2 separate regions of the Homo sapiens genome follow, and region 1 is linked to region 2. The links are contacts of gene promoters, found by promoter capture Hi-C in human tissues and cell types (Jung and others, 2019). All regions are on one chromosome and are shown on one strand. Each heading gives the region's core, a stretch centred on a gene start or on the middle of the fragment in contact. The rest is flanking DNA. Distances are from core to core; before and after follow the strand shown. Region 1 overlaps RABGAP1L (RAB GTPase activating protein 1 like). Region 2 holds the start of GPR52 (G protein-coupled receptor 52).

Region 1 (6,393 bases), core at 2,683-5,182, 260 kb after region 2:
AGTAATCACTTTCCTGACTTTTAATGCCATAGTTTAGCTTTGCTTGTTTTGGAACTTTATGTATGTGGAATCATACAATACGAACTCTTTTCTGTCTAACTTTTTTTAGTCATCATTATGTTTGTGAGATTCATCCGTATCATTGCATTTAGGCATAGTTTAGTTTTCCATTCTCCCATTCTATTGTTGACGGTTATTTGAGTTGTTTCTAGTTTCCAGAAGGCCATTATGAATAGTGCTCCGTGTGAATCTTTTGAACTTTCTTGAACTTGTCTTTTAGTTAACGTACCTATGCACTTCTGTGAGTACACATCAAGGAGTAGAATTGTTGTGTTAGGATGCACATACATTCAGCTTTAATGGATACTGCCAAACAGCCTTCCAAGGTAGCATGAGCATTAACTTTGAGTTGTTTTTATTCAATAAAGATCTTTCTTGTGATCAAGGGCAAGGTTTTGTTCTGTTTTGTTTTGTTTTGTTTTGTTTTGTTTTGTTTTTAGGTCGCAGATAATGGGTCAGATAAGAGTCCATGAATACGCAACAAAATGAAACTCATTTGGTGATTGGAATGATTGACCTGATCTCTGAAGTTGCATACAGGCAGATTGAAAGCTAAGAACTGGACCTAAAAGCAGAGTCCCTTTAGTGCTTTTATGAGAGAAGTTACTATGATGGGGAAAATCCAGCAAAGTATTTTCAGTCTTACAAAGAGCAATGTAGAGACGGTATGACATTTGAGTTAGGATATTGGACTTTTTAGTCAACCTTTCCTAGACAGCCTTGTTCAAGTTACTTGACCTATGTAAATCTCATTTTCTTTGTTTGTGTAATGAGACTAACAATACCTGTCTCTCAGGTTTAGTGTAAGAATTAGATGAGATTATGATATCAAGTACTTAAGTACTCTGCCTACTATACAGTATTCAATTAATAATAACATTGCCCTGCAGTCTGCTCCATCCATCTGTATAGCCCATTTAGTTGCTTCTTAATTTCTTCAATTATCTAGGTTTCTAATCACCTTCCCCTCCATCACCCAGTGGTTGAGATGCTTCTTTGGTAAAAGCAAAATTTTAAGTGAGTGACCTTAATGGAAGCTTAATTCTATTTCCTTTTTCAGTAGTGATTCAAATACTGCTCTAAAAGTGTTTTTTGCTTCTCCTCCACATTCTTTCAGAAGACATAAGGAAAATACTGGTATTTCTTTTAGTCTTCACAGAATAACTGACAGCCGGTGTTTGAAGTTGACTCTTCCCAGATAGTTCAATTTTTAGAGTACCAAATATGTTCAGCTTTATATAGTAACTTGGTATTTTCATGAAATTTAAGGAAATCGTTGACCCTTCAAATTAGAATGTATCTTCTGCTTCTCTTCTCTTCTCAGGATGTTGAAAAAATGACAGTACTACATTATTTGATTAAATATCACCAGGTATAATTCTCTCAAAGCAGTTTTCAGAAGTTGTTATCTGAAGAGTAGATTCATTATTTATTACACAATATTCTCCCTCCTTATCCCCATTCTCCCCCACAAAAAACTCATCAGAATGAGCTTAATACAAGCAAGATTAAGACTCTGACATAGGGGAGCTGGCAAGATGGCCAAATAGGAAGAGCTCTGGTCTGCAGCTCCCAATGAGACCAATGCAGAGGGTGGGTGATTTCTGCATTTTCAACTGAGGTACCCGGTTCATCTCACTGGGACTGGTTAGACAGTGGGTGCAGCCCATGAAGGATTAACAGAAGCAGGGTGGGGCATCACCTCACCTGGGAAGCACAAGGGGTCAAGGAACTCCCTCCCCTAGCTGAGGGAAGCTGTAAAGTACTCTGCCATGAGGGACAGTGCTATCCAGCCCAGATACTACACTTTTCCCATGGTCTTCGCAACCTACAGACCAGGAGATTCCCTCGGGTGCCTGCACCACCAGGGCCCTGAGTTTCAAGCATAAAACTGGGCAGTCGTTTGGGCAGACACCAAGCTAGCTGCAGGAGTTTTTGTTTGTTTGTTTTGTTTTGTTTTGTTTTGTTTTTACCCCAGTGGTGCCTGGAATGCCAGTGAGACAGAACTGTTCACTCCCCTGGAAAGGGGGCTGAAGCCAGGGAGTTGAGTGGTCTGTCTCAGCAGAACCTACCCCCATGGCATCCAACAAGCTAAGATTCACTGGCTTGAAATTCTCACTGCCAGCACAGCATTCTGAAGTCAAGCTGGGATGCTTGAGCTTGGTGTGGGGAGAGGTGCTGCCATTACTGAGGCTTGAGTACGCAGTTTTCCCCTCACAGTGTAAACAAAGCCTCCAGGAAATTCGAACTAGTTGTGGAACCCACCGCAGTGCAGCAAAGCTGCTGTAGCCATAGCACCTCTCTAGATTCATGCTCTCTGGGCAGGGCATCTCTGAAAGAAAGGCAGCAGCCCCAGTCAGAGGCTTATAGATAAAACTCCCATCTCCCTGGGACAGAGCACCTGGGGGAAGGGGTGGCTGTGGGCGCAGCTTCAGCAGACTTAAACATTCCAGCCTGCCAGCTCTGAAGAGAACAGTGGATCTCCCAGTACAGTGCTCGAGCTCTGCTAAGGGACAGACAGCCTCCTCAAGTGGATCCCTGATACCTATGCCACCTGACTGGGAGACACCTCTGAAGAGGGGTTGACAGATAACTCATACAGAAGAGCTCTGGCTGGCATCTGGCAGGTGCCCCTCTCTGATGAAGCTTCCAGAGGAAGGAACAGACAGCGATCTTTGCTGTTTTGAAGCCTCTGCTGGTGATATACCCAGGCAAACAGGTTCTGCAGTGGACCTCCAGCAAACTCCAGCAGACCTGCAAAAAGGGCCCTGACTATTAGAAGGAAAACTAGCAAACAGAAAGCAATAGTATCAACATCAACAAAAAGGACACCCATGCAAAAATCCCATCTGAAGGTCACCAACATCAAAGACCAAAGATAGATAAATCCATGAAGATGAGGAAAAGCCAGCGCAAAAAGGCTGAAAATTCCAAAAACCAGAATGCCTCTTCTCCAAAGGATCACAGCTCCTTGCCAGCAAGAGAATAGAACTGGATGGAGAATGAGTTTGTCGAATTGACATAAGTAGGCTTCAGAAGATTGGTAATAACAAACTCCTCTGAGCTAAAGACACAGTGCAAGGGAGCCAAAAACCTTGATAAAAGGTTACAGAAACTGCTAACTAGAATAACTAGTTTAGAGAAGAACATAAATGACCTGATGGAGCTGAAAAACACAGCACGAGAACTTCGTGAAGCATACACAAGTATCAATAGCCAAATTGATCAAGTGGAAGAAAGGATATCAGCGATTGAAGATCAACTTAATGAAATAAAACAGGAAGACAAGATTAGAGAACAAAGAATGAAAAGGAAGAAACAAAGCCTCCAAGAAATATGGGACTGGGAAAAGACCAAACCTACGTTTGACTGGTGTACCTGAAAGTGATGGGGAGAATGGAACCAAGTTGGAAAACACACTTCAGGATATTATCCAGGAGAACTTCTCCAACCTAGCAAGACAGGCCAATATTCAAATTCAGGAAATACAGAGAACACCACAGAGATACTATTCCTTTGTGGAACCCCACAAAGAACAACCACAAGACAGATAATCATCAGATTCACCAATGTTGAAATGAAGGAAAAAATGTTAAGGGAAGCCAGAGAGAAAGGTCGGGTTACTCACAAAGGGAAGCCCATCAGACTAACAGTGGATCTCTCTGCAGAAACCCTGCAAGCTAGAAGAGAGTGGGGGCCAATTTTTAACATTCTTAAAGAAAATAATTTTCAACCAGAATTTCATATCCAGCCAAACTAAGCTTCATAAGTGAAGGAGAAATAAAATCCTTTACAGACAAGCAAATGCTGAGGGATTTTGTCACCACCAGGCCTGCCTTACAAGAGCTCTTGAAGGAAGCACTAAATATGGAAAGACCAGTACCAGCCACTGCAAAAACAAAACAAATTGTAAAGACCATCAACACTATGAAGATACTGCATCAACTAATGGACAAAATAACCAGCTAGCATCATATGACAGTATCAAATTCACACATAACAAAATTAACCTTAAATGTAAATAGGCTAAATACCCCAATTAAAAGACAGACTGGCAAATTGGATAAAGAGTCAAGACCCATTGGTGTGCTGTGGAGCAGGGGGCGGTGCTCATCGGGGAGGCTCAGGCTGCGCAGGAGCCCACGGTGGCGGGGAGGCTCAGGCATGGCGGGCTGCAGGTCCCAAGCCCTGCCCCACAGGGAGGCAGCTAAAGCCCGGCGAGAAGTCGAGCACAGCAGCTGCTGGCCCAAACACAGCTTAGCAGTGCTAAGCCCCTCACTGTCTGGGGCCGGCAGGGCCAGCTGGCCGCTGTGAGTGCGGGGCCTGCCGAGCCCACGCCCACCCGGAACTCACGCTGGCCCGCAAGTGCCATGTACAGCCCCGGTTCCCACCTGCGCCTCTCCCTCCACACCTCCCTGCAAGCTGAGGGAGCCAGCTCCAGCCTTGGCCAGCCCAGGAAGGGGCTCCCACAGTGCAGCGGTGGGCTGAAGGGCTCCTCAAGTGCCGCCAAAGTGGGAGCCCAGGCAGAGGAGGCACTGAGAGTGAGTGAGGGCTGCCGGCACGCTGTCACCTCTCAGAGGGAGAGGCGTGGGTGGGAACCGAGGCTGCGCACAGTGCTTGCGGGCCAGAACGAGTTCCAGGTGGGCGCGGGCTTGGCGGACCCCGCACTCGGAGCGGCTGGCCTGCGCTGCTGGCCCTGGGCAGTGAGGTGCTTCGCACCCGGGCCAGCAGCTGTGGAGGGTGCACCAGTCCCCCAGCACTGCTGGCCCACCCGCACCACGCTCGAATTCTCGCCAGGCCTTAGCTGCCTCCCCATAGGGCAGGGTTCGGGACCTGCAGCCTGCCGTGCCCGAGTGCCCCCTGGCACTCCTGCCCTCCACGGGCTCCCGCACGCCCGAGCCTCCCTGACTGGCACTGCCCCCTACTCCGGGGGCCTGGTCACACCAACCGCCCAAGGGCTGAGGAGTGTGGGCACATGGCATGGGACTGGTGGGTACCTCCACCCATGGCCCTGGCACAGGATCCACTAGGCGAAGCCAGCTGAGCTTCTGAGTCGGGTGGGAACTTGGAGAACTTTTATGTTTAGCTAGAGGATTGTAAATGCACCAGTCAGCACTGTGTCTAGCTCAAGGTTTGTAAACACACCAATCAGTGCTCTGTGTCTAGATAATCTAGTGGGGACTTGGAGAACTTTTGTGTCTAGCTAAAGGATTGTATATGCACCAGTCAGCACTTTGTGTCTAGCTCAAGGTTTGTAAACACGCCAGTCAGCACCCTGTCAAAACGGACCAATCGGCTCTCTGTAAAATGGACCAATCAGCTGTCTGTAAAACGGACCAATCAGCTCTCTGTAAAACAGACCAATCAGCAGGATGTGGGTGGGGCCAGATAAGAGAATAAAAGCAGGCTGCCCGAGCAGTCACCTTCCGGACTGTGGAAGCTTTGTTCTTTTGCTCTTTGCAGTAAATTTTGTTGCTGCTCAGTCTTTGGGTCCGCACTGCCTTTATGAGCTGTAAGACTCACTGCGAAGGTCTGCAGCTTCACTCCTGAAGCTAGTGAGACCACGAACCCACTGGGAGGGACGAACAACTCCAGACGCGCCACCTTTAAGAACTGTAACACTCACCGCGAAGGTCTGCAGCTTCACTTCTGAAGCCAGCGAGACCACGAACCCACCATAAGGAAGAAACTCCAGACACATCTGAACATCTGAAGGAGCAAACTGTGGACACACCATCTTTAAGAACTGTAACACTCACTGTGAGAGTCTGCGGCTTCATTCTTGAAGTCAGCGAGACCAAGAACCCACCAATTCCGGACACAGTGGTTTTCCCCTGCAGTCAGGCTGCCCAGCAGTAGCTACTTTCTCTAAGAAGTTTTCCCTGATCACCCGTTCTTAAATGGATATATCCTTTTCCTTTCTCTCTTAGCACCCCGTGGTTGGTGTTTATTTATTGACTTACTTACTTACTCCTCCAACCTCCCCAGCCAAACTTTGCGTCATTCCATCAGTCAGTGGCCTGCTGGTGTCTGCCAGTGCTTGCTGGTGTGCTCTTCTGCTGGTGTGTGTTCCTCCCAACGTCCAGCCGCTTGTGTCTGTGCCCCCAGGGTCTTGGGGATTTTATAGACACAAGATGGGGGCATGGCGGACCAGGGTGGTCTTGGGAAATGCAATATTTGGGGACGAAAACAGAAATGCCTCTCCTGATTTAGGTCCAATGGCACAGGCCCAGAGGTGGAGCCCTCACCAGGAGCCCCACCCTTCTGCTCCCAGCACTTCCTTGCCCCCATACTATATCATTAAGACATACATTGAAGTGCTATGTATCTCAC
Region 2 (5,846 bases), core at 2,754-5,253:
GGTGCCTTTCCTGAATTTAGGTTGACTATAAATGTGTAGATTTATTTCTGGTTTCTCTGTTCTATTCCATTGGTCTATGTGTTTTTATGCCAATATCATGCTGTTTTGGTTACTATAACTTTGTAGTGTATTTGGAGTCAGGTAGAGTGATGCCTCTAGCTTTGTTCTTTTTTCTTAGGATTGCCTTAGCTATTCAGGGTCTTTTGTAGTTCCATACAAATTTTAGGTTTTTTTTTTCTATTTATTTGAATGTCATTGGTATTTTGAAAGGGATTACATTAAATCTGTATGTTGCTTTGGGTGATATTGTCCTTTTAACAATATTAATTCTTCCAATCCATGAACATGGCATATCTTTTTAATGTGTTGTTTGGTTTGCTAGTATTTTGTTAAGGATTTTTGCATCTATGTTTCTCAGGGATATTGGCCTCCTATAATTTTTTTTGTTGTATGTGTCCATGTCTGCTTTTGGTATCAAGATAGTGCTGGCCTCACAGAATGAGTTTGGAAGTATTCTCTCCTCTTAACTTTTTAAGAATAGTTTGAGTGGAGTTGGTATTAGTTCTTCTTTAAGTGTTTGGTAGAATTCAGCAGTGAAGCCATCAAGTTCTGGGCATGTCTTTGATGGGAGACTTTTTATTATTGCTTCAATCTCTTTACTCATTATTAGTCTGTTCAGATTTTCTATTTCTTCATGGTTCAATCTTGGTAGATTGTATGTGTCCAGGAATTTAGCCATTTTTTCTAGGTTTTCCAGTTTGTTGGCATATATATTTTTCACAAGTCTCCAATGATCCTTTGTATTTCTGTGGAGTCAATTGTAATGTCTTTTCATCTTTGATTTTATTTATTTGAGTCTTCTTTCTTTTTTGCTTAGTCTAGCTAAGGGTTTGTTGATTTTGTTTATCTTTTCAAAAAATCAAGTTTTTGTTTTGTTGATCTTTTTATGTTTTTTAGGACTTTTAAGAATAATAATAACCTATTTCGGTCCCATTTTCACAAGTCTGTGATTATAGGCAAGTTATACTTACTATCTCTACTATCTGCTTTCTTCATTTGGAAAATGATAATGATGATACCTACTTCATAGAGTTTTAAGATTTTTATAAAGGAAAAGTATATAATGCACACAGCACAATGCTTGGCATATAGAAAATACTCAACAAATGTTAGTTATCTTCCATTTTTATCTTAATTTTCCTGGTGTATTTTAATTCTGACATAATTTGTAAATTAGTTCTAAGTCACTTTTAAGAAAAATGCTGATCCCCTAAGAAGTTTAAAATAGTGAATGTTTGTCTGTAGTAAGTCAAAATAATCAGAAATGTTTTAATGTCCATCAAATATTTGATTAAATTAATTTGCATTGTTCTAATTTAGGTATGTGTAGCTCAAGCACTTAGAACAAATTTCTTTGACCATTTGACCTTTTTTTTCATATTAGGATAAAAAGTGGATAAGCAATGTTTTTATTTATTCTAATTTCTATGCTCTTTTGAGATCATATTTGACCTTCAGTATTGCTCTGAATAGATTTTGGTACAGTAGTGTTAGTTCTATTGCTTTGTTTGTACAGTTAAATACATCAAACTCAGCAATTTTTTGTGGGGGTGATGGGGATTGGAGAGATTAGTAAATGATTTCTAAGTTCTGTTAATTAAAATGTAACTATATATTTTAGAGAGAAGTTAGTAGTCATATCACTTTAGTTCATGAAGACTTGGCAAATTTTTAATAATTAATAAGTTTTTTCTGCCAATGAGCATTAGATTACTGCTGACTTTTTAGTGTCATAGTACCTTGTGGTAGTTTCTTTACAGGGTTTACAGGAGTATGGCAGTTTATTTTTTCTGTCTTGTCCATACGAAATAATCTTTACAAATGCTATAAGGAGAATACCTTGAGAAGTTCATAAATGCCTTAATATATTATAAAGATCGGTCAGTTCCATTGTCTTCTTTTGTCAGTCTTGATCGGAGCTTGCCGAGTAAGTCTATAAGCCTGCATGTGCCTGGCAACTGTTACCTAGTGACAGTTTCAGCTGCAGTAGCCATTGGCTGTGCTGTTGATTGGGGCAGGAGGGCCGAGTCACCTTTCTGATGGTGAGTTTTTCTGCATCAGCCCAGGATGAGGAGGAGGAGTAGGGCTTGGGCTCAGGTGGAGTCATTGATGCTGAGAGATTGTGAAGAATATACTGACAGCATCCTTGTAGCTGCATCACAGTAAATCGGACTTCTGAATCAAGCAGCCCAGCCTAGCAGCTGATAAGAGTGAATGTAGGTGAGAAGCATTACCTTATTCCTGTAACAAGAGAACTGTTTTGTGATAAGTGAAACTAGGAATGTAGAAGAAGAAATATCCTATGGCTATTATAAAAGAAGAAGGACTTGCCTGAATGACTTGGTGGTGCACCAGAAAATAACTTTCAGAAGAATGCTTTCTGTTAAGCTGCTGCATTGTTCCTGGAGGAAATGTTATTTCTAATGCATGTTATTTCTTCAAAAGATAGGATAACAAAGAATGACAGGAGACTCTCTGAAATGACTTCACTTTTAAAAAATACTTTGGCAAATGTTAACCTGATATCAAAATGACCTTGGAAGCATTTTGGATGGATTCTATCCTGGCAGCCTTGCAATGTTTCAAACTCTAGGATTTAAAGTTCATCTTGATACTTTAGAGGTATTTTAAAATAAGACTATCTTGCAACCTACCTAATGGCCCCTGTGTTAATTGAGCACTTGCTCAAAATAGAGTACAGAAAAATAGAAGAGGCATTTTTTAACATATGGCTGCTACATAACTGCAAATGTAATAAACAAGGTAATTTTCCACTTTCAGAAGATATAGTTGAAGTAATGATTTAATGTGTTAAATCATCTACTGAAAATAGAAAAGGTATAGCAACATAGAACATGAAGCCTATTAGAAATACCTAAGTAATAAATAATGGCAGCATTTCTGGTCAAATAAGCTCGGAGTATATTGGAAAGTTTTATTGTCTAACTTTATATTTACATATATATGTGAGATATGGGTATACAGTTGCAAAGGTGAGAAATAACTGTGAGCTACATATTTTATTATCATGCTCCATTATAAGGAAGGTGGTATATGAAATAACAAATGTTATTTTAAGTTATAGATGCCAAATTAATAGCAAAAATAATTCATTTTGAAAAGGAAGAGGTATAAGTTACGTTGCTGTTAGTACCACCAGTAACTGTAATGGATTAAAACTGCTTTCATCTAAATGCTTTAAAAATGCATGCAGAATTAAAACTTCAGAAGTTTATTACATTTTGCCAGGTGTTAATTCATTAATTCATTGTATATTCTCTTTTCTATTGGAAAATACTTTTTTCTCATGAGAGTTATAGGGCAATCTGGAGTCTGTTTGTTACCTCTATTCTGCCCATGTAGAGATGAATCTTTTCAAATTAACTTTGATAGAGTTGTTTTTCTTAGATTTTAGAAAAATGAGAAATAGGTTATAAATTTGACCCCCCAACATCAATCCCTGAACTAAGCCCAAAGACACTCTTTGCCACAATGAACTTTTTCTTAGCTTTTCAACCAAATTTGAGATCTTAAATTATTTAAAATCTAAAATATGAATGCATTTTTCATCATAGATAAAGCAGGAAGCCTGAGACAGTTTCAGAGTTTTTCTTTTCTCATTCTTTCCAGTTGCTCCCTAAGAAACTGCCTCTCTTAGGAGAACAGCCCACAGAAGCTTTTCTTCCTTTGGCAATTCATTTTTTTTCTTTTTACAGATTTAATTTTTCATAGTGCAAGATAATAAGAAGTCTATTTTCTCTAGAAGTGCCTTATGTCTGCAAAAAGTTCTTTGAGGGCACCAGAGGAAACTAATTAGTGACCTCTTTTCACCTCCTTTCTAGCTTATCCCCTTCTCTCCACCCCTTACCGCCCCCCCCCCACCCCCCCGCCCGAAAGCTGAGGTGTGTCACTGCTGAACTGAGGCTGGTGAAGAGACTTGAGCACTCTCTGGGACTCTCAGCTGTGACAGAAGCACTGACACTGTCTACTGAAGCAGGTTCTGAAACACTCATGTGCGGTGTTTAACAGATGCTGGGCAGGGCATCTGCTTGCTGTAGCCAAGTCTGCAGGTGTCTTTAAATTTCCAAGCCATGAATGAATCCAGGTGGACTGAATGGAGGATCCTGAACATGAGCAGTGGCATTGTGAATGTGTCCGAGCGTCACTCCTGCCCACTTGGATTTGGCCACTACAGTGTGGTGGATGTCTGCATCTTCGAGACAGTGGTTATTGTGTTGCTGACATTTCTGATCATTGCTGGGAATCTAACAGTTATCTTTGTCTTTCATTGTGCTCCACTGTTACATCATTATACTACCAGCTATTTCATTCAGACGATGGCATATGCTGATCTTTTCGTTGGAGTTAGCTGCTTGGTTCCTACTCTGTCACTTCTCCACTACTCCACAGGTGTCCACGAGTCATTGACTTGCCAGGTTTTTGGATATATCATCTCAGTTCTAAAAAGTGTTTCTATGGCATGTCTTGCTTGCATCAGTGTGGATCGTTATCTTGCAATAACCAAGCCTCTTTCCTACAATCAACTGGTCACCCCTTGTCGCTTGAGAATTTGCATTATTTTGATCTGGATCTACTCCTGCCTAATTTTCTTGCCTTCCTTTTTTGGCTGGGGGAAACCTGGTTACCATGGTGACATTTTTGAATGGTGTGCCACGTCTTGGCTCACCAGTGCCTATTTTACTGGCTTTATTGTTTGTTTACTTTATGCTCCTGCTGCCTTTGTTGTCTGCTTCACTTACTTCCACATTTTCAAAATTTGCCGTCAGCACACCAAAGAGATAAATGACCGAAGAGCCCGATTCCCTAGTCATGAGGTAGATTCTTCCAGAGAGACTGGACACAGCCCTGACCGTCGCTACGCCATGGTTTTGTTTAGGATAACCAGTGTATTTTATATGCTGTGGCTCCCCTATATAATTTACTTTCTTCTAGAAAGCTCCCGGGTCTTGGACAATCCAACTCTGTCCTTCTTAACAACCTGGCTTGCAATAAGTAATAGTTTTTGTAACTGTGTAATATACAGCCTCTCCAACAGCGTTTTCCGGCTAGGCCTCCGAAGACTGTCTGAGACAATGTGCACATCCTGTATGTGTGTGAAGGATCAGGAAGCACAAGAACCCAAACCTAGGAAACGGGCTAATTCTTGCTCCATTTGAAGAGAGCTACATAGTAAATCAAATGTAATCTGACAGTGGTTTTGGATCATATTCTAGATTCATCTGGAAATTTGCCATCAGAGAAATATTTACTTGAATAGTTGACTGTAAAATGAAGTATGAGACTAAAGGTTTCTCTCTTTTTTTTTCTTTTTCATGGAAGAAACTAAAGGGAAGGATGTATAGAGGGTTAGCTCATGAAATAATTATAGCATGTGAGTATTAGTGTGCAGTAATAGGAAAAATTAAGCACTGAGATGAAAAAGAATATCTCAAATCTTCTGCAGGACATGAGCAAGCCCCTTGGCTCAGCATTTCTGTCTTTCTGTCTGACTGTACCCTGCCTCTGTCTTTCTCATTTTGTCTATGTTTCTCTCACTCTTTGTGGAAGTTATTACTTACATAAACTGCCCTTTGTAGAAAAGTGCTACATATTATATATGTGGTAAAGTATAATCTTTTGCATCAAAGTGTACCTTTAATCACACTAATCTATAATCCATAAGTGATCTCTTCATGGAGGATGCACAGTAAGCATTGCATTTTATTATTTGCCAAACAACCCCTTTGCTTGTGTTTTTATAATGTTCTCTGCAGCACAGTTTTTCT

The links. The method cuts DNA at HindIII sites, captures the fragments that hold promoters and counts their contacts. A contact is called where the count stands out against the background at its distance.
Region 1: a fragment that was not itself captured here is called in contact with the fragment with the promoter of GPR52 in region 2 in 2 of the 25 tissues and cell types used here (H1 embryonic stem cells and adrenal gland).

The regions. Positions count from the first base shown.
Region 1 is chr1:174,706,758-174,713,150 of GRCh38, forward strand. All of the region lies in intron 17 of RABGAP1L (RAB GTPase activating protein 1 like), which reads left to right. Among named protein-coding and RNA genes, the nearest start is that of RABGAP1L-AS1, 240 kb to the right of the region's middle. RefSeq lists an enhancer at 5,639-5,748. The HindIII fragment of the contact is 4,063 bases long and covers 1,902-5,964 here.
Region 2 is chr1:174,443,961-174,449,806 of GRCh38, forward strand. GPR52 (G protein-coupled receptor 52) reads left to right here and starts at 4,004. Exons shown (of 1, transcript NM_005684.5): 1 at 4,004-5,585. The coding sequence starts at 4,152. The coding sequence ends at 5,237. The region is part of intron 13 of RABGAP1L (RAB GTPase activating protein 1 like); the gene reads left to right. The HindIII fragment of the contact is 5,530 bases long and covers 1,725-5,846 here.